Regions from separate parts of the Homo sapiens genome. Here regions 2, 3 and 4 are each linked to region 1. Evidence: promoter capture Hi-C in 16 types of primary human blood cells and fetal thymus (Javierre and others, 2016). All regions are on one chromosome and are shown on one strand. Each heading gives the region's core, a stretch centred on a gene start or on the middle of the fragment in contact. The rest is flanking DNA. Distances are from core to core; before and after follow the strand shown. Region 1 holds the start of PPP1R12A (protein phosphatase 1 regulatory subunit 12A). Region 2 holds the start of OSBPL8 (oxysterol binding protein like 8). Region 3 holds the start of NAP1L1 (nucleosome assembly protein 1 like 1). Region 4 holds the start of ZDHHC17 (zDHHC palmitoyltransferase 17).

Region 1 (6,714 bases), core at 550-3,049:
AGTCTGATAAGAGAATTCCATTACACAAAATTTAAAATGGTCATCACTCCCTTAAACAGTAAGCAGGACAAGGAAAAATGTCACTACACACCTTTTTTTTAAAAGGCATCAAGTTAATATTCATGAAATATAAAGCCTTGAGTTTCAACCTCCCAAACAAGTTTTTACTACAACATTATTCAAAATAAGGCTATGCATCTTCCACACACAACCAAGGCAACTTTGAGATAGCTTACAAGTCTTTTCATTGTTAAGGGGAAGCTATCGCTGCAAAGTCATTTTCTATTACAGTTATTCCAAGTTGCCCGCTAAGAAAATAGAAAAAGCCTATGTTTTGTCACCTATTACCGTCACTTAAAAATTGCTTTTTATGCATAACTCTACGTGGTTGTGTTGCTTTTGGCCTGTTAAAGGCAAGGCAACATTATCTCTGGATTGCCAATAGTTTCTCCTTATTTGGCTAACATTGAGAGATCCCAATCAGACTACTATAAAACTTTAATATGCACAAAGCATCCATTTTGAGAAAAGTTTGTGACCAGCTTTCTTTTTTCCCAACCCCAAAAGAAAAACCAGAGCTTGGTAACCGGCTTTGAAAAGAGTGTCCCCTATTTATTCTTCTCTTTCTAACACCAGTGCACACCCGAGGACCTGGGGCTCAAGGATCTCTGACACTGCGGCAAACTTCGAGTATCAGACTCAACACGTTCCGGTCCGGAGGTGGGCAAGCCCTTTAGAGGGCTTCCTTACTCTACCCACTTCCATCCCCTTCCTTTCAGCCGGTGCAGATCAGCTAATTACACCCTGTTTTCCCCTCCCCAGTGACCAAGAGTAATAAATGAGAAAACAGGAAATCGTTCGTTCAGGGCACTCGGCTTAGGGCTCTAGATTACTATTATTATCATCATTTGTAATCAAGTCCTAAAAAGTGCAACAAATCCAATGCCCACCTACAAGTCAAAGATGTTCATCTGCCTAACCGTCCGTAATGCCCCTTGTTAGTTTTCTTCCTTCAGCATCCACCCCTCCGAATATACCACTGACACCGGGGCCCAGGCACAACCCCACTACACCCCTCCTTGTCTCGACCCCAAATCCCAGACTTATCCACGAATGGCCCTGGGGCCCCAAACGACCACAGTTCCTTTTCCCCTATGCCCCGGAAATCACCCGGTTCCCAACTCCACCAGCAACTGTTCTGAAGGGGGGCCTCAAGCCCAGCGCCCTCCCTTCCACCAGCTCTCCCTCCCGCCCTCTGGGGAAACCGCCCCCTCACCCCGCAGCAGGGAGTCTCCCGCCGCCCCCAGCCTCAAGAGGTGGAGAACTGAGGGCAGGCCCGAGCAGGAGGCCGACGAGAACCCTCACGGTCAGGAGAGCCGGCGGCGGGGCGCACAGACCTGGTGCAGGGCAGTGAGTCCGTCCACATTGGCGTAATTGATGTCGGCGCCGCGGTGCAGCAGCTTGAGGACCTCGTCCGTGTCGCCGCTGGAGCAAGCAGCCAGGAAGACGGCGCCATCGTCGAACTTCACCTTGGTCTTCTGGCGCTTCACCACCGGAGGCTCGAGGTCCGTCTCGGAGCCGATCCAGCGTTTCAGCTGCTCGTTCCGCTTCTGCTTCGCGTCCGCCATCTTCATCCCCTCTCCTGCCGCCGGGTCTTCTTATCGCGAGGGGGGGAAGGGGGAGGCGGAGAGGGAAGAGAGGGGAGGCAGGGGGTGTGTGAATGTTTCTATGAGTGCGGGCCAGAGGAGGGCTGGGAACCCGGAGCCGACGCTCGAGACTTCCAGTATCCCACAGAGCACTGGGGCGGCGCACCCGGCCGAGCGGACCTCCCTTCCTACCACAGAAGCCCTCCCGCCCCCAGCACGGCCACCCGTCACCGGCGGCCAATCTAACGTAACTTCGCGAGATCCGGACTGGGAGGCGCCCTTCGACCAGTGCGCATGCGCCCTGGGCCTGTGCCCGCCCCAGGAAGAGCGCTCCCGCGAACTGCGGCGGTGGTGGCTGGGCCACCAGAGGGAAGCGGGTGTGGCCCAGGCAGCGGGGGCTGGGACAGACCTGGAAAGGAGGAAGCGGGGAAGGAAGGTTGTCCTGTCGGGCTGGGGGCTCCCGGGAATCCGGAGGCCAGCAGTGGAACCGCAAGGCTCTACAGGGCAGATCTGCCTCCCGTGCTGTCTCAGCTACGCCGAGTCGTTGGCTCAGGGCGGAGGATTTTCCTATTGGCCGCGTTATTTGAATGGAATGGAGGATAGGTCGTGAAGTAGGTGCTGCTGGTTGATCTTTCTAAGGAACTCAGATGAACTTGGGCATGTCAGAATTAATAACCTTTTAAAAGTGGGGTCTGTGTGGCCGAGGGTTTTAATGGTAAGTTCTTGAGGTGACCACCTATTGACAAGGGTTGACCTGCTGTAATTGCTGTGGCTTCCTGCCAACCCCCACTTTAGAAATGTTTTTCTTCCTCTCTTTACTTGTTTTGTTTTGCTTTCTCTCACGCTTGGGTTCTCTTCTTTCTTCCTTCAGTGCTTTAAGCCTGTCTCGTACTACCCATGAGCTTAGCTCAGCCTGATTACTGGTCCTTACCTTTTAAGGGATTTCTGGTTACAGCTCCATCTCTTTCTAAGGAGGGGTAAAGACCTAGCTGCGTCTAGCATTTAAACGGAACGTTAAGGAAGGCAATTAATTCAACCACTATTTATTGAATACCTACTATGAGCCAGTAACTGTACTAGGCACTGAAGATACAATGAAAAATATGACATTTATTTGAACCACCTCTTGAGTTCAGTCGCCCAAACAAGACTAATTTATCATCGTCATAAAAAAAAGACTTTAACTTTGCCTTGTATGACCACACGCGCACACACATAGGATTTGTAATACTGATGTCTTATGAGCCATCTATCTACAATCTCCACCAATTGATTTTACTGAACACTGCATTGTTACCATCCACTACTATTTTTAGAGCATTTAGAAAAGCCAAGATAAAAACCACAAAACCTTACCATGGAAGTTTAGGGGTCATCTAGACAGAGTCCCTCAAGAACTAATTAATTTACTTAATTTTACCCAGAAGTAGGATTAGAATTCACTCAGCAAATACTATGCACCTGTTCTGGGTCAGGCATTGTTCTAGGTGCTGGAGATAGAGCAGTGAACAAATAAGCTTTTCTTACTCTCAGCATGATGCCTTTTCCAGTGGACTACTTCACAGCCTATCATATTGAGAAATAAAATAATTGAGTAAAACGTGATTAGGAAACTGTCTGCCTGTGAGACAATTTTCTGAACCACAGTTATTAGGATAGCGATAGAATCCAGGTCAGGGTAAAAATATTTCCTCTGAAAACGTTGTAGGAATAGAAAATGAATGTAATATTCATAAGATATACCATTGTATGTTCATTACATACATTAAAGATAACATCAGACCTTTGAATACTCATGGTGTTAGGTACTGAAAAACATTGTTAGCACTAAAATACAAAATCCCTATCCACAGAATACAGCTCTCAGAATAAAAGAAAGGAACTTGAGGATTGCCTTGTCAGCTCCTGTCTCTACCTAGGCAACTGACAGCATATCCTGTTTTCCAAGAACGTTATGGCCTATGTGGTAGCTCTTAAAGTGCCCTTGCAGTATAGATGGGAATCTGAAGATTTCATTCAGGCAAAAGGAATTTAGTGGGAAGTATGCTATTCCTGATTCAAGCACTTATTTCAGGATGCAAAATTAATAATAGTTTATTAATAAAACATAATTAAGTTCATTCAGTTCCCAGAAGCTGTCAGGGAAAAAACAACCAAGGAGGGCTGCTATCATGTGCAAATTTCACTGAATTTAGTTTTTCTTCTTTCGTGGCTCTAAGGGTCAAGATGCTCTATGTTAATATTGAAAGTACTCTGAAACTGCCACCTACTTTGTCTTTAGGGAGGATTTTTTTTAAATTGTTGTTAGTGAATTAATGGTACTGAAGACCTTGGGTTAATTCTAGAACAAGCAAAATTTTTTATTGACACACACAGTCCCAGCACAGTGGCTCACACCTGTAATCCTATCACTTTGAGAGGCTGAGGCGAACTCTGCCCAGGAGTTCGAGGCTGCAGTGAGCTCTCTGCACTACAACCTGAGCGACAGAGCTAGACCCTATCTTTACCAAAAAAAAAAAAAAAAGACACACACACACACACACATGCTTTTATTACATATTTGTCTAAGCAGAACAAATGGAAAAAATGCAAATATTTTCACTTCCTAATGGCTTCTAAACAGATTGGGATGTGAGGATACATTTTAGCTCCTTTAAAGCAAATTAAGCCTTAAAATAGAAGTACAAATAAAACTATACTTACTAATTTGCATATATGTATATATAAAAATATATTTTTGGCTGCACCAAATCAATCATATTGGAGGTTTTTGTTTCTGAGACAGGGTCTCACTCTATCGCTCAGGCTGCAGTGCAGAGGCATGATCTCAGCCTCCCAAGTAGCTGAGACTACAGGCGCGTGCACCACCAGGCTTAGCTAATTTATTTTTTAAGTTTTGTAAAGATGGGGTCTACCTATGTTGTCCAGGCTGGTCTCAAACTCCTGGGCTCAAGTGATCCTCTGCCTTGGCTTCTTAAAGTGTTGGGATTACAGGCTTGAGCCACTGTACCTGGCTGGGGGTTTTATTTATTACATGCACAAGATTGTCAGAATGAGATCTGTGTATATCTTTTTCAAAGTTTAATCACACTACTGACATTCCTTACCATTAATTTGCTTGCTAATTATGATCAACTTAATTTAAATTATAAACATATTTGAAATGCTGACATGCACAGCTTAGATTTGTTTCTGCTATTATAATCTCTTTGTTAAAAATGTACATAAGATATTAATAAATACTTTGATATATCTATGTTCTCTTTATCCCTAATTTAAACCTGAGATACTAATTTACATTTATACACTTGAGAATAGAACAGTCAACAAGGACCTTGTTTCTGTCTCCTGTATTCTACACCTGGGCCAAACTCTCTTCCATTGCATAATAATTTCTTTCCAATGTTTTATTTAAGAACCTGAAGAAAAGGCTGGGCACGGTGGCTCATGCCTGTAATCCCAGGGCTTTGGGAGGCCCACGTGGGCAGATCACCTGAGGTTAGTAGTTCGAGACCAGCCTGGCCAACATGGCAAAACCCCCGTCTCTACTAAAAATACAAAAATTAGCTGGGCGTGGTGGCACGTGCCTGTAATCTCAGCTACTCGGGAGGCTGAACCCGAGAATACATGAGAATTACTTGAACCAGAAGGCGGAGGTTGCAGTGAGCCAAGATTGTGCCACTGCATTCCAGCCTGGGTGACAGAGCAAGACTCTGTCTCAAAAAGAAAAAAAAAAAGAACTTGAAGAAAAGTTTACAATCCATTCACATCATAATTTATTTAGTCCTACCCAGGGAGTTGACCAGAACCAACATGGAACCACCCTAACTTGCTTCAGACTCCATTGCTAGATCAATCCTGATTTCTAGATCATAGCATCTAATCTTTGCCTTGCCTCTGGATTACAAGGTGAGTTTCTAATTTACTTTAGGGTAAATTTTCTGCCACATCTGACTCCATTTCAAGAAACTAACCCTATCACAGTACAAGTACTGGCTAATATGCTCATAAAGCTTCTTTTGTTCCCCAAAACTAGGACTCAGATGAGTGTCTGGCAACAATCCAAAGTGCAGTTATACTGCTAAAGAGATAACTCACCTCCATTGCACATGACTCCCAACCTGTATCATGTGACAGAACATCACATGCCCCTTTCATATGAATTAATGTTTCCCAAACTTTATCAGTTTTATTGCCAAATTCAAGAACCGCAAATACTAGTATTTGCTTAATGTTTTCTTTAACCTTTTTAAGACAAATTTATTTTAAAGCAACATTATGTTGCTTTGGTAAGTGAAAAACGTTTCCACTTGACATAAAGAAGACTGTTAAAGCAAATACAATGAAAACAAAACATTAGTTAGGTTGTCTGTCAAGGGTCTGAGCCCAAGCTGTGCTCTCAATTTGTTAAAAAAGGGATATTGGTAAGGGTTGGACATGTGAGCATCAACCTAAGATTTTTCAGTTTAGCATAATCGGAAAGATTAAAAGGTAGTGAAAAAAGAATATTGTGCTAAGTGCTTCACTGTTGTTTTAATGTTACATCTACCTTATAACATTACCTCATGTACCACCAGTCTACATGTCCTACACTTTAGGAAACTGACTGACTTTAATTAGTATGTGTAATAATAATTACGATTAATTAAGTGAAGGTTATAGGATAGGCCTTAGTGGCACCCCCAACTCAAGGTGTCAAGGCAAGGCATTGGCAGGAAGGCCAATTTGTATGAAAATATCTGTGTGCTGAAGGAATTTCAGAAATAAGAGTCATTCTCCATGGCACTGAAATTAGAAGAATAAATTACAAGATCAATATCTGGAAGGCAAGTTTAGGTGCATGAGTTCTATCTTGGATCACTAATATTTAGTTGAGGGATCCATTCAATTGTCCTTCAAATCAAATCCTAGGAAAAGCTTTAAAATTCCTTCACAGACCAGAGTGCAAAAACAAGGTATTCATGAGAACCAAAACATGCTGACCGTGCTCAATTTTGACAGGTGGGAATATCAACTTCATGTGGTTGTCTTAAAGATTAAATGAATAATGTATGTGAGAGAGAAAAAA
Region 2 (6,528 bases), core at 2,785-5,284, 3.4 Mb before region 1:
CCTTCCACATGAGAATTTTATGACTTTGTGAGGATATGTGAGGGATGGGGACCAAGGTGGGAAGAAAGATCTAAAATCTCTCAGGGGTTTCCCACATACTGCCATGAAATATGCACACAACATGAGTCTAGACATCTCTTCCTGTGTCTCATCACAAGGAAGCTATACTTTGGCCACAACTGCTCCAGTCAAGCACTTCTACTAATCTCCTTGTACCCAGCCACCTTCACTAAAAATTGTATATTTCTCAGAGGCTTTTTGTTTTTTTGGTGTTTTTTGAGACTGAGTCTTGCTCTATCGCCCAGGCTGGAGTGCAATGGCATGATCTTGGCTCGTTGCAATCTCTGTCTCCTGGGTTCATGCGATTCTCCTGCCTCAGCCTCCCAAGTAGCTGGGATTACAGGCACACACTGCCACGCCCAGCTAATTTTTTTGTATTTTTAGTAGAGACGGGGTTTCACCATGTTGGCCAGGCGGGTCTTGAACTTCTGACCTCATGATCTGCCCACCTCAGCCTCCCAAAGTGCTAGCATTACAGGCGTGAGCCACCGGGCCTGGCCTCTCAAAGGCTTTTTTATTCAAGTTGTGTTTCTGTCTTATTTGCAGGTCATTATTTGTAAGATTAAGGCAGGACCTATGTCCTCTTTGAATTGCCTGATGCTCCAAGAACATTGCTATAAATGTTTTTAACTTTCAATATAATACAAACATTACAACATGACATTTCAGGCATTGTTATTAGGATAATATTAGGATAAAAGTTTTCCAAATTAATATTAGAAAACTAGATCTATGTACTGTATCAATTCTTTGTCTTTAATGCCTTAATTCAAGTAATCTACTTTTGAAGGATTATTTACAAACCAAAGCCAAGTTGAAATGTACTAACACTGGTTAAAATTCTGCAATTCATACTTTTAAACAAAAGATCCGCCAGACACAGTGGCTCATGACTGTAATCCCAGCACTTTGGGAGGCTGAGGCGGGCGGATCTTGAGGCCAGGAGTTGGAGACCAGCCTGGCCAACATGGTGAAACCCCATCTCTAATAAAAATACAAAAATTAGCCTGGCATGGTGGCACGCACCTGTAATCCCAGCTACTCAGGAGGCTGAAGCATAAGAATCTCTTGAACCCAGGTGGCAGAAGCTGCAGTGAGCCAAGTTGCACCACTGCACTCCAGCCTGGGATACAGAGTGAGACAGTCTTAAAAAAAAAAAAAAAAAAAATCCTTTTGTAATGCATATTTTACAAATTCATAATTTCATCATTTTTCTTAAAGCAAACTAAAACATAAATTCATTATACACAATTGTAAATTTATCCCCAAAGTGTTTTCTAAGGCTTCCAATTTTTAAATGAACCAAGGAACTGAATATTGACAAATGTATAAGTACCCTGAATGTGTTATAAAAAACATATTTGACTGTCTTTAAAATGCAGTAACATTCTAAGGAAAATACAGTAGCATCTTTCCACAGATCAGAGATTCAATAACTATTATGATTCAATCAAAGAGAAATAAACCATGGCCATTTTTAATTAAACAGGCATTTCTAAGCACCTGTGTACACGGTATTGCTGTTCAAACGGTTGACATGGAATGTGACCGCAATAACTTGATGTCCATAATTAAAGACCCAAAAGGTAGCTTAAGTTTCATCTATTTCCTTTCTCAGCCCTTTGAGCAGGTATATTATAGTCACTCCATACACGGTTAATATTAAAAAAAAATAAAAGTAACAAACATTTGAAATTAGTTGTACTTTTATAGAGAACAGTTTTAAATTGCATGGCCTTACTTTTCCTATTCCAACCTATTTTATAAAACTAGCATGATCTTAATAATTTCACTGCAAAACAGGTTCTAGCAAGCATAGAAACTGATCATAGCCTCTCAGCAAAATCAAGTTTAGATGAAACTCTAGGAAATTAGCAAAATTTAACAATCAATTCACCCACGATTCTCCACAATTCTTGCTCTCTCTAGATACGAAGGGAGGCAAAAACTGTTTTAAAGGATTATTTCAAAAGCAGCACTAATTTTGGGAAAAACTTAACTGCCATGCAGGAGACACTGTATTACTACTCAGACGTCATTTAAGTCTTCTAGCAGCAGAAAGGCAAAAACATCATTAAATTTTTTATTTAATGCATATATACTTACATTATCAGTTAAAGTTTACCCATCTGTTTACGTTGTCCAAGTTACCTATTATTTCAGAAAGCATTTAAATAAAATGAAATTAGGTTACGTTCTGCAACGCAGATGTGTCTCATAAAGAAGAGTGTTAAATGACTTTTGTGAATGGAAAATCTGCATATACTGTTGCTTCGCCTCAGCCAGTCTTGAGTGGGTGGTTCAATGAACCTAAAGCATGCTGCCTGTGAAGCTCCTTGGAACCTGATTCCACTCTTGAGAGAGGGCTTAGAAACAAACATTAAATTTAAAAGCACAGCAAAGGCTTGGCTTTCCTCCTACGTTACAAGAAGGCCGGGAGAACTGAGGCTTAGAGGAACAACACCGTGTCGCTTGGCTCTGCAAAGGCGGGTGCGGTCTGCGGTGCGCGGCACAGCCTTCTCTGGGGCTGTCACAGGAAAGAAGGAGCCTCGCCTTAACCGCACCGAGCGACAAAGCGCCAGCTCTCCTGGGCGCGGGGGCTCCCAACGAGGCCCATGCCATCAACCTATCAAACTTCAGGAGGGACAGACACCCGGGGCGGTCGAAATGCTCCAACAGCCTCCCACCCCCGTTCCCCTGCCGCGGCTTTTGTAAGGCTGCAGATGCACCTACTGTGGGCCCCTAAACACTCCACCCTGCCAGCCTTTCCAATCCCCCTACTCCAAAAGGGAACAAAGGAGCCAAAGAACTCCTCGGCGGGGGTGGCCAGGAGTCCCCGACAGCCCGAGCTCAGAACGTGGCAATAAGGGTGCGCAGTCGCCCTGAGGGGTGCGAACCCAGCACCCCAACCTCAGGAATGGAGCAACACTCACCCGTGCGGAGCTCCCAGGGAGGCGGGACGCAAGGAGCCGGTTCCTCCGAGGTCGCCGCGGCGCCGGGGTCCGAGGCCCCGTAAGCGTCTAGTCAGACCCCAACTTCTCTCGGCCGCTGTCGTCGGCGGCAGCTGGGGCGCGAGCCTGGACGAAGGGCGCTGCCCAGCGGCCGCGGAGGCACTGCCGGCTCAGCCCCCGAGCGGGGCGGGAACTTTCGGCCCCGAGGTCCACCAGCCCGGGCGGACCCCCACCTTCCCTCAGTCGGCTTGCTACCGGCAGCGGCTACTGCGGCGTCCAAAGCTAACACTACAGCCGCCGCCTGGCCAGGAGCGCGTCGCGGCCTAATGTTGTCATCCGCCGCGTCGCCGCCTTTCTGGGCACCCAGAACCGCGAAGATCCTTCACATTCTAGTGCCCTCCCCCTGCCCCGCCCGCCCCCCGGATCACGGGCTTCGGCCACGCCCTCTTCCCGTCACGTGACGGTGCGCGGAGGCGGTGGTGGAGTTGCTTCCCCTGCTAGGCGGGCTCGAACCGGGCGGGAGTCACTGTCCACCTTGCTTCGCCAGGGTGTTATCGCCAGCCAGTCCCCTTCCGCATGCCCAAGGGCAGCCTCAGGAAGCGAGCCCACCACCGTCGGCCCAGCGCCTGTTGATCGGCCAGGCCTTCTGGGCCGGTCATACTGGGCCCTTCCTAACCTGAGGAGATTGCACAGTAGGGCTCCCTGGTCTGGTCAGGGCTCAGTTAGGACCCCTCTCCAGCCTTAGGCTTGGTGAAAGCTTTAGCGAAACAGAAAAAAGAACGCATCGTGGTGTAGAGTGTATGGCCTAAGAAGCATTCGGTAACTAAACTACTTGTTCCTATTTCTAGTGGCACATTAACCGTGGCATTTAATTTACTGCTTTCCTCATTAGAGGTTTTTTTTTTTTTGAGGAAACGGTGTATTTCAATCATGCTGGGATGAAAACAGCCTAGCAAACTTATTTTTGTTCCTTGTTATGTTCAGGATCCTGCTGCCAGTTTTACAGTCATTAAGTTTTACAGTGTGTTAGGTTGGTGACAGTTTAAACGGGTACGCAGGAATTTGACAGTTTGTTCCATTTTTTAAAATAAAGCCTAATTCTTGATTTTTTTTCTAATGCCTTAATTTTTTTTTCCTAATTCCTTAACTCTAGGACTTAACCTTTTGCTTTCTTTTTTAGCCATGATCCGAAGAACCCTCTAGCCGCCTAATGAAATCCTAACTATACAGAAGTAAGGGAGGTAGAATAAAGATCATACTCAAACCCTGATCACAATGAAGGCAAATGAGAAAGCTTTCTGTAATAATTAAATTGGGGTCATAACTCATTTTCCCTTGTAGCCCAGAACTAAGGATTTTTTTCTTAAGCTATTCTCATCTCATTACATTTTCTTAACAAGAAATCAGAAGGCATTCTGATAAGCTGGATACATTGAAATGAATAAGCAATAGAGTTTGGCCTATATAATTATTATTAATATATTTCATAGCAGCTCTAAAAAAATCATAGACTTACATTGTTTTATGTTACCCAAGAAAGAAAACAAAGGCTGCCAATGAAACTATGCCATACCGCTGATATGTAAGGCACCTTTAAGCCACATCTTTTTCCTTTTTTTTTTGAGACAGGGTCTCACTCTGTCTCCCAGACTGGAGTGCAGAGGCGCAATCTCGGCCCACTGCAATTTCCGCCTCCCGGTTCAAGCGATTCTCCTCCCTTAGCCTCCCAAGGAGCTGAGATTACAGGCATGCGCCACCATGCCCAGCTAATTTTTGTATTTTTAGTAGAGAGGAGGTTTCACCATTTTGGCAAGGCTGGTGTTGAACTCGTGACCTCAAATGATTCACCCGCCTCGACCTCCCAAAATGCTGGGATTACAGGCATGAGCCACCGCGCCCGGCCTGAGACACATCTTGAATTCAGAGATGTAAACATGTCAGAAACAACGAGTCTTAGAATCTCTGAGATATTGTCATGAACTGGGAAACAACGAGTCTTAGAATCTCTGAGATATTGTCATGAACTGGGAAACAACGAGTCTTAGAATCTCTGAGATATTGTCATGAACTGGTGTTCCAAAGAGGAAAAGATTCTACCAGGTTCTGTTCTGAAGCCTGAGAGACTGTAGTACAAATAAATGTGAAGGAAGTTTATTATTCTGTGACATTATTTCAGCAAAGCTAGTAACTTTGGAGTTTGTTAACAGATTAACTTGTCTCCTGTTTTCTAGAGGCATGTTTTTCAACCTGCAACTCAAAAATCAATTTCATTTTTATATGAAATAGGCTAGGATGTAATACAATATAAAATACCAGAGTGCATAATGTCTAGTAAGGGCAAAAATTGCTTCCTGAAACTTTTTGTTTCAAATATGGTGGAAGGTGAGAGTATGTCCTATGTTGTGATTTAAACAATTTCTTACTGTGAGTTGCAATCAAATAGATTTGGAAAAGAATGTTCCTAGAGCATAGATAATATGCAAAATACACCATCTGGACCCCGTTTTTCTGGTACTTTTATTTTACTTTGGAAACTGAGACTAAAGATTAGAAAAAGGTGGCAAATTGCCTTGCCTAATTCTCTTCTGCCTCAGCCCCAATTTCATACATTGGCTTTTGAAAATTTGATCATTTGTTGGAAAAAGCAATGTACTGGAAGCAAGGAAGCCTAGGTTACAGACTTAGCTAATGAGATGTATGACTAGATAAATTACTCCCTGCATTTCAAGTTCCAATCAAGTAGGACCACATGCTGTTTGAGAAATGATACTAAACCACCTTTTTTTTTTCCCGGTGGATGGCAATCACATTGGAAACAAACAGACACGGTATACTCAGGATTATGCAAATTACTGACAGCCTACGTTTAACTTCTTTCAGCTCCACTCAAAAAAAAGAAAGTCCTAATGCAAGTAATTGAAAGTGAAGATATTGCAAAACAAATGTAAGTATATCTTTCACAATCTTCTCTACTTTGATTATCACTAGTATAATAGTTACTTGTCATGAATAACTAATGATTTTGACATACTTAACAACTGATTGCAACACAAAAATATATTAATCCACTACAGTTGAAAAATCATTTTTTCAGATCCTTTCAAATCTGATATTGTGATTCCAGGAATGATAATTCAATCTAGCATTTTCAATGTAATGACAACATAAACAGAAACTAATATGTGATCCTGCACTGTAACTGAAAAATATTCAGTAACTCCCAGAGATGCCCTGCAAGTTTGCTACTCTTACAATGATTTTAAGAATGACATTTTGAAATAAAGCTTTTTTATTATAACGATCCGATTTTAACTCCAATGAGAATTCATCTCTTTTGCCTACTGCTTTATTAATTATACATTTCTAAGAATGGGAAGTTCTTTCCAAATTAGTTTAAGCACTGACAGGCTTGACAGCCTTTCCCACAGTATATTTCAACCCTGACCTAGAATGACAGAGATGTTGCTTGAGGTTGTTTGCTTTTTTCCATTTGGCTTATCCCATTAGACAATTATGT
Region 3 (7,010 bases), core at 3,546-6,045, 3.9 Mb before region 1:
CACTATGTCGCCTAGACTGGTCTGGAAATTCTGGGCTCCCGCCTTGGCCTCACAAAGTGCTGTGATTGATTACAGGTGTGAGCCACCACACCTGGCCTCCTGAAAGGAAATCTTCCTTCCTAAACTGAACTAAAAACAAAATCTTCCACTGAAGAGGGGAGGCAACTGACTGAACTAATTGGATACATAGAGCTGACATAAGGCTAAGAAACCATTACCCAACTGCAGTCACATAACGTTTCAGTCAACACAGGACTGCATATACAACAGTGATCCCACAAGATTATAATGGAGCTGAAACATTCCTATTGCCTAGTAATGTCACAGCTCAATTCATTATTCATGTTTGTGGTGATGCTGGTATAAACAAACCTACTGCAGAGTCATATAAAAGTATGGCACTTACAATTATTTACAGTACATAATACTTGATAAGGACAATAAATGATTTATTGGTTTATGTATTTACTATACTATGCTTTTTGTGGTTAGAGTACACTCCAACTTATTTTTAAAAAAGTTAAAACTGCCTACAGTATTCAACATAGCAACATGCTATACAGGTTTGTAGCCTAGGAACAACAAACAGGCTATACCATATAACCCAGGTATGTACTAGGCCGTACCATCTAGGTTTGTGTAAATACATTCTATGACATTCACAAAAGGATGAAATGGCTTAATGATGCATTTCCCCCAGAACACATCCCCATCATTAACCATGCATGACTGTGTATGTAAACAAATTCTATGCTGGAAGAAGACTTCATGACCATAACTGCTATACAGCTTTTCCCTAGAGCACAGTGGGATACAAGGTGGAGTGCTTTTGAATTTCATGCTGCTATGGTTTGAGTATTTGTCCCCTCTAAAACTCAAGTTGAAATTTAATCCCCTATGTGGCAGCACTGAGAGATGGGGGTCTTTAAGAAGTGATTGGATCATGAGGGCTCCACCCTCACAAACGAATTAATCCATTCATGGATTAATGTATTTCTTTATAAATTACCCAGTTTCCCACCAGGGGAGCTGGAGAGCCAAGCTACCCAGTTAGCACACTCAGCCCCCTCCCCATGTGATACCCTGTACTGCCTTGGGAACCTTCAGAGTCTCCACAAGTAAGGTTCTCACCACATGGGTCCCCTCGATCTTGGATTTCTCAGCCTCTATAACTGCAAGAAATAAATTCTTTTTTTTTAAATAAATTACTCAGTTTCAGGTATTCTAAGCAACAGAAAATGAACTAATATTCATGCTGATTTATAGCAGAACAGTGTAAGTCAACATTCTTTCAAAACCAGGATAAAAATTATCTCATCATAAGTTATCACTGCTCACGTACGTAACCACGGACGGGTTATCTAACCACTCCACACCTATTTTTTTTCCTTGTTAAAATGTTGATGCTACCTGTCTCTAAGTAAATTAAATGAGCTAATAATACACACAGAATTTAAAACAATGCCTGAATAATCAATCAGTGTTGCCTATTACATTATTTATCCCTGTTATGCTCTTCTGTACCCTCTTTAGAAAATAATTCCAAGACTGAAATTATAACTCTAGACAGGTGTGGTGGCTCACACCCATACACTCAGCACTTTGGGAGGCCAAGGCAAAATCGCTTGAGGTGAGGCATTTAAGACCAGCCAGGGCAACACAGCAAGAGCCTGTCTCCACAAGGAAAAAATATATATAACCCTGTTTCCCAATAAAAATTAAAATGTACAAAACTTCTGAATAAGTAAAAATATATACAAATATGCAGGAAGTAAAAGGCAGAGTTGGTAACCAAAGGTATAGAAGCCATTTTCTATGGCAAGCCCACTAATGTACTCTAATGTTCTGTAGTCATTGTGCTAAACGACTTACATATGGATAGGTGTAAAGTAACAACTCTCTCCTTCTAACCCCTATTCTGCCCAAAAACTTATTTAGATGAAACTAGTTTGAAATGGAACTTAAAATCATCAAATTATAACAGGTTCCTTTGTGTAAACGCTGTATTACTCTTTGACCCCTTTACCCTTTCCTTCCTTTATAGCTCTCATCACAATTTAACATTCTACATCTAAGCAACCAATTTGCCTCTTTTGCTCATGACATAAGATACATGTCCATACAGGTGCTAGATAGTTACCCAAAGACTAAACTGAGAACACAATTACAGGTTTGATTAAACTTGAAGATCTGAATACACTGATCATTAATATTTTGATATTGATGAGTCATTCTCTCTAATCCTTTGTTTCAAATTTACAACCAAGAAGTGAATAAAATATTGTATTTTGACATCTTCAGACCTTTGAAGTCCAACAGATACTGCTTCTTTAGCCCCTTCTACAAAAAGACCCTTAGTTTTGAATATATTTTGAGAATTTAGAATCAACTCAGTTTTACCAGGAGCCAACAGGAGCAAGCTGAATAAAATGAGATGGCATTTTGGATTACATTAGTTATGGTACAGGTATTCGTTTCAAAAATCTCATTAAAGGCCAAGTGCAGTAATTTACCATATTCAGTATTAGCTTTATAATTCTGCAAATCAATGGGCCTAATATAAAAATAGGCACTTTGTAGCAGATAAAATTTAGAAAGATATTCAAATTGGTATAGTGAAAACTTTTAAATTTCTATTTACTAACATAATGTTGACTTGGAGAATCTATGAAAGTCAGGTTTTATGACAGAAGATGTCCAAGTCCACCTACCAGGGTTTAGTTCCATACATTCTCCAAAGGACAGTATTCTTAGAACTAAACTATAGATTTAGGCCATTTATTTAAACTTGGGCAACTTCAAACAAGCTTGAAACACAAGAGTGCCTTGAAAATAACTGTAAAAGTCATTTACTTCCCTTCGATTTTTAAATGGTACCCTATACATAAAAGGTTTTTCCCTTATTCAATCAAAGGTAATGTATATTACTTCCAAAGTATAGGAGTATTAATTTAAGCTGACCAAAAAAAGAGGACCCAGATACTCGTTTCCAAAGATGTTTTGAATCCACCTATTTTCAAAAGGCCAAATTTCATTTTACAGCTCTTGTGAAACCAGGCAAGCAGTGTAAATTTTAAAATGCAGCAGTGGGATATCTTCAAATGTAGCAGTGAGATTTTTAAAATGTAGTTGTTTCAAAACTGATCAGTGACCGTCTAAAATACGGGCTCCTTGAGGACATCCTGCGCCTGGTTCATCCTTTTTGCACTCTCAAAGTCTAGCCTTCCCAGATGGGACCTCAGTCCCAGCCCCCCTACACTGCCATCCCCCAGATCTTTAGGGCAGTAGGGTTCATTGACAAGGTTGCAGGCTACAAACTTGGCAAAGTTTATACTAACACCTCATTCCATCCCACCTCCCATCTTAAAAAGGAAACCGTTAAGTATCTTATTCTAGTGACTTCAATAAAGGAACTAATTTATAAGACAGCCAAGAACAATTAAAGTCATAAAGGGCCAAACATTTTATTTTCATCTAAGAACCGTTTGCAGGGGTGGTCCGATCTTTTGGCTTCCCTGGGCCACACTAGAACTGTCTTGGGCCACACGTAAAATACATTAACTAGCTGATGAGCTTTTTTTTCCAAAAAAAAAAAAAAAAAAAAAACCTCATGAATTTGTGTTGGGCCACATTTAAAGCCGTCCTGGGCCGCGGGTTGGACAAGCTTGGTTTAGGGGTTTAGATCGATCAGGATCAATACTCCCCAAATAAAAAACCCTGATCAAGACACCCATCTAACAGTACCTGGGAAACACAATAACAACCTTTTGCTAATAACAGTTAATATAAGCGCTATATACGCGTTAACTTTTTAAAATACTAGCAGTGGAGGCCCTTCCTTATCATCAGCTAACATCCACAATCTCTGGTACCAATAAAAAGATTAAGACCAAAGAGAAGCAGGGAAGAGTTTGAAACCCAGGGACAGGGCTTACTCGCTTACCCTTCCTTTTCACATTCCACCGTCTCTACAACTTTCAAAGTAAGCACAGACCGAGGGCAAGGGTCTCCAACCAGGCCCAGCCAGTGGCCATGAAGCCCATTACCACGTGTGGAGCGAAGCCGCCGGGGGTTTCCCCTCCCCGCGCGGCCGCCCCCAATGGGCGGAGAGCCCGGGAGCGTCGCAGCCTCCCCCGCCCCCTCCCCGCCTCGGGGACTCGTCCCTCCACAGCCCCTCCCTCCCGTCGGAATTCGCAGCCTCCGCCGTTCTTTTCATCTCCCAGCGGCCTCCCTCCTGGTATTATTTTTGAGGGAAAAGCAGGGGGGTGTCCAAGAGGCGGCCGGCTCTGCACTCGGCCCGGCCCGTACGCCGGGGGCCTCCCGGTCCTCGCGGCGCAGCCGAGTCTCAGGGCACCCGGGCGTCACCGCGGCCTCGCTCCGGTCCACGCGGAAAAGACGGTGGAGCTCAGAGAACCTTAGGCCTCCAGGCCGCGCCAACCCCTACGTCGCCTCAGCCGTCCCCGATAAAAGCGCTGGTCGGCCCCGGGGCCCCTCTCAGGCTCCGGGGTCCGGACTCCGCGGTCCTGTCCGACCTCACAGGACGACCCCGGAGGCCACGGGCGGCCAGCGGCCCCGACTCCCGGCTCCCAGTCCCTCCATCCCTCCGGCCCTCCCATCTGCGCAGGCCGCCCAGCCAACACCACGTTCCCCCTTCCCTTCCAGGCCCCCATCCGTTACCGGCGACTAGTATGGGGAGCCAGGCGGCCGGAGCTGCGCAGGCAGTGACTCAGGGCGGCAGCGGCAGCAGCAGCGGGAGGAGCAGGAGGCGGCGCCGCGAGCAGATGGCGCTAAAAAAGACCCAAGAGCCCGCCGCTCGCGCTCATATACAATTAGCGTCAGCACGTAGGGCCCTTTCGCCGCCCTCCTCCCGGCCTTGTAGTCTCCCAGCAACGCGAGCGAGAGGCGGGTCCAGGCCGGGTTGCCTAGCAACTGAACCGTCCTCCTTCCCCGGCGACCTCCATACCCCCACCGAGGACTCCTGCAGCCCCGAGGCCCAGGCGCCGCGCTTGGGCTCCTCTGGTTCCCGCCGGTGTCTAACCTCCTCTGTTAAGCACCCCACCATATCTTTTCTCCCTGCTGAGCCGGAAAGGAAATTTCAACCCCATCAGTTGTGGGGAAGGCCTGGCCCGCGTGCCCGGCGCCCGGCCCGCCCCGCCCCCTTCGGCGTTGTGCTGGGAACGCTCAGGGCTGGCGCCAGTCGCCTGGTCCCTCGCTCGCCGCAGCCTAGACGGCGGACGCTCCCTGTCAAGGCCTAATTCCTGCAACTCGCCGGCCCCCGGTAACCGTTTTCCTTCCCCGCCTAAGAAAAACAGTTTTTTCCTCTAGACCACTTCGGCGGCCTCTTCTGACAGTTTTGCTTCTCCTATGCCAGCGGGTCTCCGCGCCTTTAGGGGGTGCTCGTCATCCTTTGCCCCCCAACCCCCCGCCACATCCTCGTAACTGATGTACAGTCCGTCAGTTCGGCTTCAGTTCTTTTGACGGATGAAAATGGCATATTTGTGCATTCTCTGGATGCGTTATAATGAGGACACTCAGTACGTCCGTTGTTTCATCTTTCTGAAAAAGTAAATCACATTAAATCCTCAGGCTTGTAAAACCTCATAGCTAATTTTCAAGTGATGATGAATTGACTAATACTAACTCAAAAAGTTGTTCTCAGAGTATGGTCTGAGGGTCCCCAGACCCTTTCATGGGGAAGGTCAAAACTATTTCCATATTAATGTCAAGACTGCCTTTTGCATTCTCATTCTCTCACAAGTGTACAGTGGGGTTTTCCGGAGGCTACGTGACATGTGATAAGGAAACAGACTGAAAATAGAAGCAGATAGGAGAATCCAGTCATCTGCGGTTAAACCAGACGTTAAAGAGATTTGCAAAAACTCGATTTGGGGGCAAGGGGGAGTAGTTATTTTTCATATAAAAATTATTTTTTGTTAATATTTGATTGCTTTATTGTTTTTAAATGAAATACTCTTAAAATTTCTCACTTTTAATTTCTGATATAAATATCAGTATCAGTAATGCACATAAAAGTTCTTTGGGGTCCTCAACTTTTAAAGGAGTGTAAAGGAATCCTAAGACCACAAAGTTTGAGAACCTCTTCTCTAAATCTTGCATTTATTGAAACTTCAAACTGCCTAGAATCCCCTATTGTAATCCACACATTTAGCAACTTTATCTTCCGTTTTAGGGGATACAATGTTTTCCTTGGCCCTCCAGAACCTCATTGAAATTATTTGCCTTCCCACTCTATACTGCAGACGACTCTGTTTATTCATTCATTTTAGTTTTTCATATACAATTCCTTTGTTGTTCTCATAGCCTATTCCTGTACACCCTTCTCAACAATGATGTAATGATACAAGGAGCATAATAGCATCAATAATGGATCTTCAGGAAGAACCCACTATACATAAACAAGGTAGACCAGTGCTCAGTTTGAACATAAATTTGACACATTAATTTCAATAAGAACTTCAGGAATGTTGCATTTTAATCAAAGCTGTGCACGATGCAAGGTAATTAGCATATTAAAATGAACTAAATAACTTTCACTTTCTTTCCATAAATCTTTATGGTAGCAGAATTTCTGAGACAAAATTGAGAAGTTAGCTTTTGTGGTGGTTTTTATCCCACACCAGAGAGCCTCATCAATTTTCGGCACTTCGCTCATGAAGGCTCTGGATTTTTTAGGTTTCACCACCCCCCCACCAACCCCTATAACTTAGGTGTTATCATTACCAGTACATATGCTCTTTCCCCCTTTTCTCCAGCTTCCTCTTCTTTTTTCAGTGTATCCTAGCCAATCTAAGAAACTAAACAATAAAATATTTCTAATAATGCATGCCTTTGTAATATAGTCTTTTGAACCAGTTTGTAAATCTAAGTCTTTGCCATTAAAGTTCAGGGAAGGGCAGACATTTATGCATTCATTCAACAAATATTTATGTCAGGCACAACTTCGGACTCTGGAAATACAGCATTTAGTAAGAAAGACACGGTTCTTGATT
Region 4 (7,187 bases), core at 3,395-5,894, 3.2 Mb before region 1:
CACAATAGCCAAGATATGGAAACAACCCAAATGTCTATTGATGGATGAATGGATAAAGTGTGGTATATACATACAATGGGATATTATTCAGCCTTTAAAAAGAAGGAAATTCTGCCATATGTGACAACATGGATGAACCCAGAGGACATTATGCTAAGTGAAATAAGCCACTCACTGAAGGCCAAAGGTGAAGTATCTAAAATAGTCAAACTGATAGAAACAGTAGAATGGTGGTTGCCAGGGCCAAAGGTAGAAGGATATGGGGAGGTGCTGTTCAATGGGTATAAAGTTTCAGTTATATAAGACGAATAAGGTCTAGAAATCTGCTGTACACCATTGTGCCTATGGTTAACAATACCCTATTGTGCACTTAAAAATTTAAGAGAGATCGGCCGGGCACCGTGGCTCACGCCTGTAATCCCAGCACTTTGGGAGGCCGAGGCGGGTGGATCACGAGGTCAGGAGATCGAGACCATCCTGGGTAACGGTGAAACCCTGTCTCTACTAAAAATACAAAAAATTAGCCGGGTGTGGTGGCGGGCGCCTGTAGTCCCAGCTACTCGGGAGGCTGAGGCAGGAGAATGGCGTGAACCTGGGAGACGGAGCTGGCAGTGAGCCGAGGTCGCACCACTGCACTTTAGCCTGGGCGACAGAGCAAGACTCCGTCTCAAAAAAAAAAAAAAAAAGAAATTTAAGAGAGATCTTGCGTCAGGTGTTCTCACCACAAAAAAACCTTTTTTTTTTTTTTTTTTTTTTTTTTAAGACAGAGTCTTGCTCTGTCGCCCAGGCTGGAATGCAGTGGCGTGATCTCAGCTCACTGCACATGCCGCTCCCGGGTTCACGCCGTTCTCCTGCCTCAGCCTCCCGAGTAGCTGGGACTACAGGCGCCAGCCACCATGCCCGGCTAATTTTTTGTATTTTTAGTAGACATGGGGTTTCACCGTGTTAGCTAGGATGGTCTCGATCTCCTGACCTCGTGATCCACCCGCCTCGGCCTCCCAAAGTGCTGGGATTACAGGCGTGAGCCACCGTGCCCGGCCCACAATAAAAAAAATTAAATGGACCAAGTAATAATTCATTGAGGATAATAACAACAGAAGAAACGTGGTAGAGGCAAAGAGTAGTAGATGGGGAAAATTCAGGAGGCTTCCAGATGATTCTGCTACCACCTAGTTTTGTAACTTTAAGAGAGTTTCTTAAATTCCCCATCATTTCCTTTTTTGTGAAATGACTAAATCTGGATAATCTCTATGCTGTCTTTAGCTCCAGTAGTGTCTGAAGTTACATATGAAACTATATTTATACAACAATGCCCCATGCCTTCCAATCTGTTTGCTTCTAAATCCATTTCACAATTATTCTCTAACAAGGTCTATTTTTCTCTTTGAATTTTATTCTTTTTTAGCCACTATTCTGCATTCCTCCATAATTCTATGCCATTCTTTTGCCAGTCTATCCAATCAGTGTACTTTCTTAGCTGTCTCCTTAGTCCCCTGAATATATTTTCTCAATTTGAGCTATAGATAAGAACTCTACAGTTATCAAGATGGACTCTGATCATATCTAAAGGGTTTGCTTCAAGATTCAACTTCAACATGTTTTCCTAAGCATGCCTGCTTCTGCTCTTGATCTCTTTCTTCAGTTCTTCATTTAATAACTATTTATTTTAGTGCTCCAGCAGTAAGCAAGACAGACATGGACCCTGGTTATGTTGTTCCAACTTTTCGGCTGCTTTTAGTATTTTCCTTATATTTGAATTGTGGAATTCTCAGGAGTAAAAATATCCACAGAGCCAGGCAGGTAATGAGAACGAGTAAAGCAGGCCATAGACCTGGTAGAGACTGAGCAAGAAGGTCAAGATGGCTTGTTTGCCAGATGAACTAGAACTCTAGATTTTAAAGTGAACTCTGATTTACTGATTTTCGCAGGGAAGGCTAAACATTTCTTTTATGAATACTCCACATCATATACCTGTACCAATATTCCTAATACATGGGTACCTGAAACATTTTCTCCAGTTTTCCATGCCTAGTTTCTTTACACTCTCACTTCATTCAATGCTTTATTAATATTTATGCCACTTAACTTTTTCAGTCGGTGTCCTTTATTTACTCTAATCTTCTATTTCTAGTCAATGCAAGACATAAAGGTAAGGAAGGGCAAGATTCAAAATTGAGATTTTTGGCCGGGCGCAGTGGCTCACGCCTGTAATCCCAAGATTTTGGGAGGCCGAGGTGGGTGGATCACGAGGTCAGGAGTTCGAGACCAGCCTGACCAACATGGTGAAACCCCATCCCTACTAAAAATACAAAAATTAGCAGGGCATGGTGGCGCGCCCTTAATCCCAGCTACTCAGGAGGCTGAGGCAGGAGAATCGCTTGAATCTGGGAGGCAGAGGTTGCAGTGACCTGAGATCTCGCCACTGCACTCCAGCCTGGGCCGCAGAGCAAGAAAGACTCCGTCTCAAAAAAAAAAAAAAAAAAAAAATTGAGATTTTTGGCTGGGTGCGGTGGCTCACGCCTGTAATCCTAGCAATTTAGGAGGCAGACGCGGGTGGATCACCTGAGGCCGGCAGTTCCAGACCATCCTGACCAACATGGAGAAACCCTGTCTCTACTAAAAATACAAAATTAGCCGGGCATGGTGGCGCATGTCTGTAATCCCAGCTACTTGGGAGGCTGAGGCAGGAGAATCGCTTGAACCTGGGAGGTGGTGGTTGCAGTGAGCCGAGATCGAGCCATTGCACTCCAGCCTGGGCATGAGTGAAACTCAGTCTCAAAAAAAAAAAAAAAATTGAGATTTTTGAGTGAAAATGACTTATGTCCATGTTAACATATGACTGAAAACAATTCGATGCTCCAAGGGCCGACCCTGAGACTATCTAGCTGTAAAAGATGACTCCTAGTTTGGGCCAGGACGAACAGAATGAAAATCAGCTCGGACTGAAATGAGAAAAAGTAGTTGTGCTGGGAGGACAGATACAGAAAAAGCCAGCAGCAAAGTTAACTGAGAAACTTCTTTCTCCCACAGCCGTGCAGTAGCTATGACACGCCATATTCACCCCTCTTTGAGTAACTGCTGCTCTTACTAGTGTTGCTACTTTATTACTGGAGGTACCTAATTACTAAATTGCTGTATCCTCAAGACAGCATCCAATCCCTCGTAAATCCCAGCTTTTCTTCATGCCGCCACGGAAACGGCGTCCCATGCAGAACTGATTCTGGCTCTCCTTAGACCCTCCTCAGACTCCTTTGGCGGGAAACTAATCTTACAAAGGAGGCTTCCTCTTTCCTTTTCCAGTGGCATTCCAAGCTTCCTTTGGAGTGCCCTCCCTCCTGATTTACAAATTGGCCTGACGTTATCGGAGTACAGGCTTTTTCCTGGTGGTTTCTGGCCTAACAGGAGACAGATTAGTAAGTACCAGGATCTCTAATAGGTCAACTTTCATGATCTCTGCTAAATTCTCAGCTGTTTAGACTTACAATTTTTAACAGCTAAAAGGAAAGACAAATGCTATCTAAAACTGTCCCATCAGCCCATTTACAGGGAGCACCTCCCCCATACCGCCCTAAAATCCTTTAAAAAATGGCTTTAGTCATTTTATCTGCCTTGCATTTAAGCGAATTCAGTTTAAGTGGCTTCAGTTCTGAATTCCTGGATTATATCGAAATGTTGCAGATGGCGGTGTGTGGGCTTTGAGCTCGTAAATTTTTTGTGTGGTACTAATTCAAGACGATTGAGAGCAGGTTGGGATCATTTTAAAAAGAGTTCTCGGCAGGGTGTGGTGACTCAAGCCTGTAATCCCAGCACTTTGGGAGGCCGAGGCGGGCGGATCGCTTAAGGTCAGGAGTTCGAGACTAGCCTGGCCAACATGGTGAAAACCCGTCTCTACTAAAAATACAAAAATTAGCCGGGCGTGGTGGCGTGCACCTGTAATTCCAGCTACTCGGGAGGCTGAGGCAGGAGAATCGCTTGAACCGGGAGGCAGAGGTTGCAGTGAGCTGAGATCGCGCCATTGCACTCCCGCCTGGGCGGCAAGAGCAAAACTCTGTCTCATTAAAAAAAAAAAAAAAAAAAAAAAAAAAAAAAAAAGGGTTCTCTAGTAGGAAGTCCCGAGTTGTATCCATGTTTTTCCGGGCGTCCCCCGGAGGGACAGGTTGCGGGTGACCTTTTCAAGTGTGGAGGAAAGGGAAGCTGCTTTTGTCTTCAGGAATGATGCAGGTCTCGACTCAAGCCTGACGGGCCCAAACCTCCCTGGAGCTGGCTGACGACTCTGCCCGAGTTCCTGAAGAGGGGTCCCGGGGGTCCCGGAGCGGAAGTGGGAGCGCGTGGGCGTGGGCTCCTCGGCTGCCTGGGGCTCCAGACTTGTGCTGCGTGCGGCTCCGGAGCTCTGTTCTCGCTCCTGAGCAGCTGCTAGGTTTCCCAAGCGACTGTCTCAACCGCCCGGCCGCCTCCCCCGGGCAGCCAGAGCTTCACATCTACCTCCAGCCGGGACCCGCCCCCGAGCCGCGGGGCCCACGCCCAGAGCCCTCCGCCGTCCCCAGCGCAGTGCAGCAGAGCGCGATCCAGTCTGGGGCCGGGCCGCGCTTCCGCGCACGCGCGGAGAAACCCGCGCCCTCCGAGGGGGGAGGGGACAGAGGGGGCGTCACGGGGGCAGGAGAAGAAGGAGGAGGAGGCCCGCGTCGCCTCCGGCGGGGCTCGCGCTCGCCCCGCGCTCGCCCTCCGCCTCGCCCGAGCCCCGGGAGGGTGAAACGCTTTCTCCCAGCATGCAGCGGGAGGAGGGATTTAACACCAAGATGGCGGACGGCCCGGATGAGTACGATACCGAAGCGGGCTGTGTGCCCCTTCTCCACCCAGAGGTGAGGAACCGTGCTGAGTGGATTCCTTGCCCTGCGGCCCTCCAGCCTTTCTTCCCCGGACTCGCCGAGGGCGGCGGCCGACGTGTGTGGGGTAGTGGGACGTGCCGAAGTTGGGGAGGGTGGGGAGGCGAATCCAGGCCTGAGCGCGGCTGCGAGCGGATAACGGGGGAGGAGATAGCGGGGCGGGCCCGACCGGGGCGGGCTCTGGGACGCAGTCCCTGGCTGTGCCTGGAGGACAGAGGTGGAGGTGTTGATGGTTCTGCTGTGTCGCCGCGCTGCGTTTGAGAGCAGAGGCGGAGGGGCCTGGTGTGGTTTTTGAACCGCAGCTTAGACCCTAGTCTTGCTCCAAGCCTCTTGGGGCCAGGTGGAAGCGCGTCTGGTTTTGATTTCTTTTTCCTTCGCCAGGGTGAATGACGGTATCTATTGCTTCCTTTTAGTCCACTGTGAGGGGACAGTTTCATGGGCATAGTGATGTCCTTCCAGGTAATGCCATGGGTAGCACCTCGGGCACCTTGTGTCGGGCGTCCTTTTTTGAGCATTTGTCCTTAAGCGATTAAGAAGAGAGGTAAAAACTTTTGGGAATAGACTTACACTCACATTAGCTTGTCAAAGTACCGTTTTTCTAGGAGCTAGGGGTGGACAGTGCAACACGTTTCCCATCACAACATGAGTGTCTTCCCATGTAAGTAAACAGTGCCCCGCTCCACAGTCAGTCAGTCTGTGCTTGTTTACCTCCGAGTTTGTAGCTGAGCTAGTGCTAGTTAAGGCTTGGAAGCAATTCTTGATGCATTCTGATTTTTAGTGATCCACAGTGATGTCTGTATGCGGCAGCGGCACAGTTTGCTGAAGAACTCGGGTAGTTTTCATGAGGTTAAAAGATGACAGTCGTGTTGTAGGATGAACAAACATGGAAGTCTCTACCTGGTTACTTTGCAATGGAGTGATTCTGTTTTTTTCTGGATTTGGGTTTGTACCATGCCACTAGTTTTTGTTAAAAAGTGAATAATGACAACCATCCTTTTATGTTGCATGTTAACACTCAACCACCCTCTCATTCGTCACTTTGGTTTATCAAAAACACATGGGACAGTTCCTTCGGAATATATACCTGTGCCAGTCTCAGTAGAAAAGGCTACTCTGGGTTTCTGATAAACAGAACTATACAGTAAGACTAAACACTTGTCTGACCAAAGTGGTAACATTTTCAGAACTGGCATTGTAGACATCTCTTTTGGTTCACTTAGGCCCTAACATACGTCAGGAAATAGACAAAGTAGTTTTCAGATGTTGCCTTGAAAATGTTGCTAAGTGATTTCTATTCATCTGTTCCTGTGAAAGTATTCGTGAAAGTATTTCAAACACTTAAGTGTTTATCCAGTTTATTTTTTTGAGACGGGGTTTCTCCCTGTCCCCCAGGCAGGAGTGCACTGACACGATGACAGCTCACTGCAGCCTCTACCTCCAGGGCTCAAGTGATCCTCTCCCCTCAGCCTCCTGAGTAGCTGTGACCACAGGCTCGCGCCACCATACCCGGCTGATTTTTTTATTATTTGTAGAAGAAGAGGTCTCCCTATGTTGTCTAGGCTGGTCTTGAACTCTTGAACTCAAGTGGTCCTCTCACCTTAGCTACTTAAAGTGCTGGGATTACAGGCATGAGCCACCATGCCAGGCCTATCTTACGTATTTTAGCATACTGTTCTTCATAAACCTTTGCTTTGTAATATAGTACTGTTGTTTGCTACTTTAAGAATAATTTTAACTGGCAACAAATCCAGATTATTTGGTGTAGTAGAATGGCCAGTATAGGCTTGAAATTTAGCTACCGATCTTCAGGTTGCCATTCGATAGATAGGATATTACTAGAAAGTCAACCTCCTCATCATTGATAGTGGGAATTGGCATACATAATATATACCGTTCCTTTTTACCCAAGAAGCACAAGGTCTGATTATTTTAATACTTTGGATGGACCTTAAGCTTGTACTACATGGCTGAGGTCTTTCTGCATTTTCTGTGGTTAGTGTGTGCAGCTGGTGCAGACCTGGGGTAGTTCTGCTGCCTCCTAGCAGTGTGTTCTTGGGCAAGCTATGAATACGTCTCTGAGTTCTAGTTTCATCATTTATAATGGATAAAAATAATAGTTAATAAGCTATAGCGAGGATTAACTGAGATAATATGTTTTTGTTGTTAAAATAAGCAGTGTTTTCAGTCTCCTTTGGGAAGAAACCCATTCTCTGTCTTGGTAAGTAATGAAATAATAGTACTTTTAACCTCTTTTTGGAGAGAACATAGACTTTGGGTCAGACAGACTTGGATTCTAATTCTGGA

Evidence for each region. Contacts are between HindIII fragments. The CHiCAGO score rates a contact against its expected background, and 5 or more counts as called.
Region 2: a fragment that was not itself captured here is called in contact with the fragment with the promoter of PPP1R12A in region 1 in 2 of 17 cell types (total B cells and total CD4 T cells); the score reaches 6.6 in total B cells.
Region 3: a contact is called between the fragment with the promoter of NAP1L1 here and the fragment with the promoter of PPP1R12A in region 1, in 2 of 17 cell types (non-activated CD4 T cells and total CD8 T cells). The highest score is 7.8, in non-activated CD4 T cells.
Region 4: a contact is called between the fragment with the promoter of ZDHHC17 here and the fragment with the promoter of PPP1R12A in region 1, in 6 of 17 cell types (non-activated CD4 T cells, neutrophils, total CD4 T cells and 3 more). The highest score is 12.1, in non-activated CD4 T cells.

Annotation. Positions count from the first base shown.
Region 1 is chr12:79,933,298-79,940,011 of GRCh38, forward strand. PPP1R12A (protein phosphatase 1 regulatory subunit 12A) reads right to left here and starts at 1,800. Exons shown (of 25, transcript NM_002480.3): 1 at 1,398-1,800. The coding sequence starts at 1,634. It overlaps PPP1R12A-AS1 (PPP1R12A antisense RNA 1), which reads left to right and starts at 1,984. Exons shown (of 2, transcript NR_146535.1): 1 at 1,984-2,257. RefSeq lists enhancers at 620-1,185, 986-1,045, 1,186-1,749, 1,386-1,685, 1,732-2,026 and 1 more and a silencer at 1,216-1,305. The HindIII fragment of the contact is 9,894 bases long and covers 1-3,161 here.
Region 2 is chr12:76,556,404-76,562,931 of GRCh38, forward strand. It overlaps OSBPL8 (oxysterol binding protein like 8), which reads right to left and starts at 3,368. Exons shown (of 24, transcript NM_020841.5): 1 at 2,994-3,368. LOC105369850 (a long non-coding RNA gene) reads left to right here and starts at 3,499. Exons shown (of 4, transcript NR_188081.1): 1 at 3,499-3,830; 2 at 5,892-5,955. RefSeq lists an enhancer at 2,289-2,598 and a silencer at 3,009-3,198. The HindIII fragment of the contact is 537 bases long and covers 3,767-4,303 here.
Region 3 is chr12:76,079,890-76,086,899 of GRCh38, forward strand. NAP1L1 (nucleosome assembly protein 1 like 1) reads right to left here and starts at 4,796. Exons shown (of 15, transcript NM_004537.7): 1 at 4,678-4,796. LOC124902970 (a long non-coding RNA gene) reads left to right here and starts at 5,196. Exons shown (of 2, transcript XR_007063379.1): 1 at 5,196-5,278; 2 at 6,322-6,844. RefSeq lists silencers at 4,111-4,180, 4,231-4,290, 4,361-4,410, 4,551-4,630, 5,071-5,230 and an enhancer at 4,526-5,067. The HindIII fragment of the contact is 5,148 bases long and covers 3,663-7,010 here.
Region 4 is chr12:76,759,471-76,766,657 of GRCh38, forward strand. ZDHHC17 (zDHHC palmitoyltransferase 17) reads left to right here and starts at 4,645. Exons shown (of 17, transcript NM_015336.4): 1 at 4,645-4,859. The coding sequence starts at 4,767. RefSeq lists enhancers at 4,143-4,242, 4,539-4,833, 4,809-5,651, 4,843-4,992 and a silencer at 4,383-4,792. The HindIII fragment of the contact is 3,524 bases long and covers 3,311-6,834 here.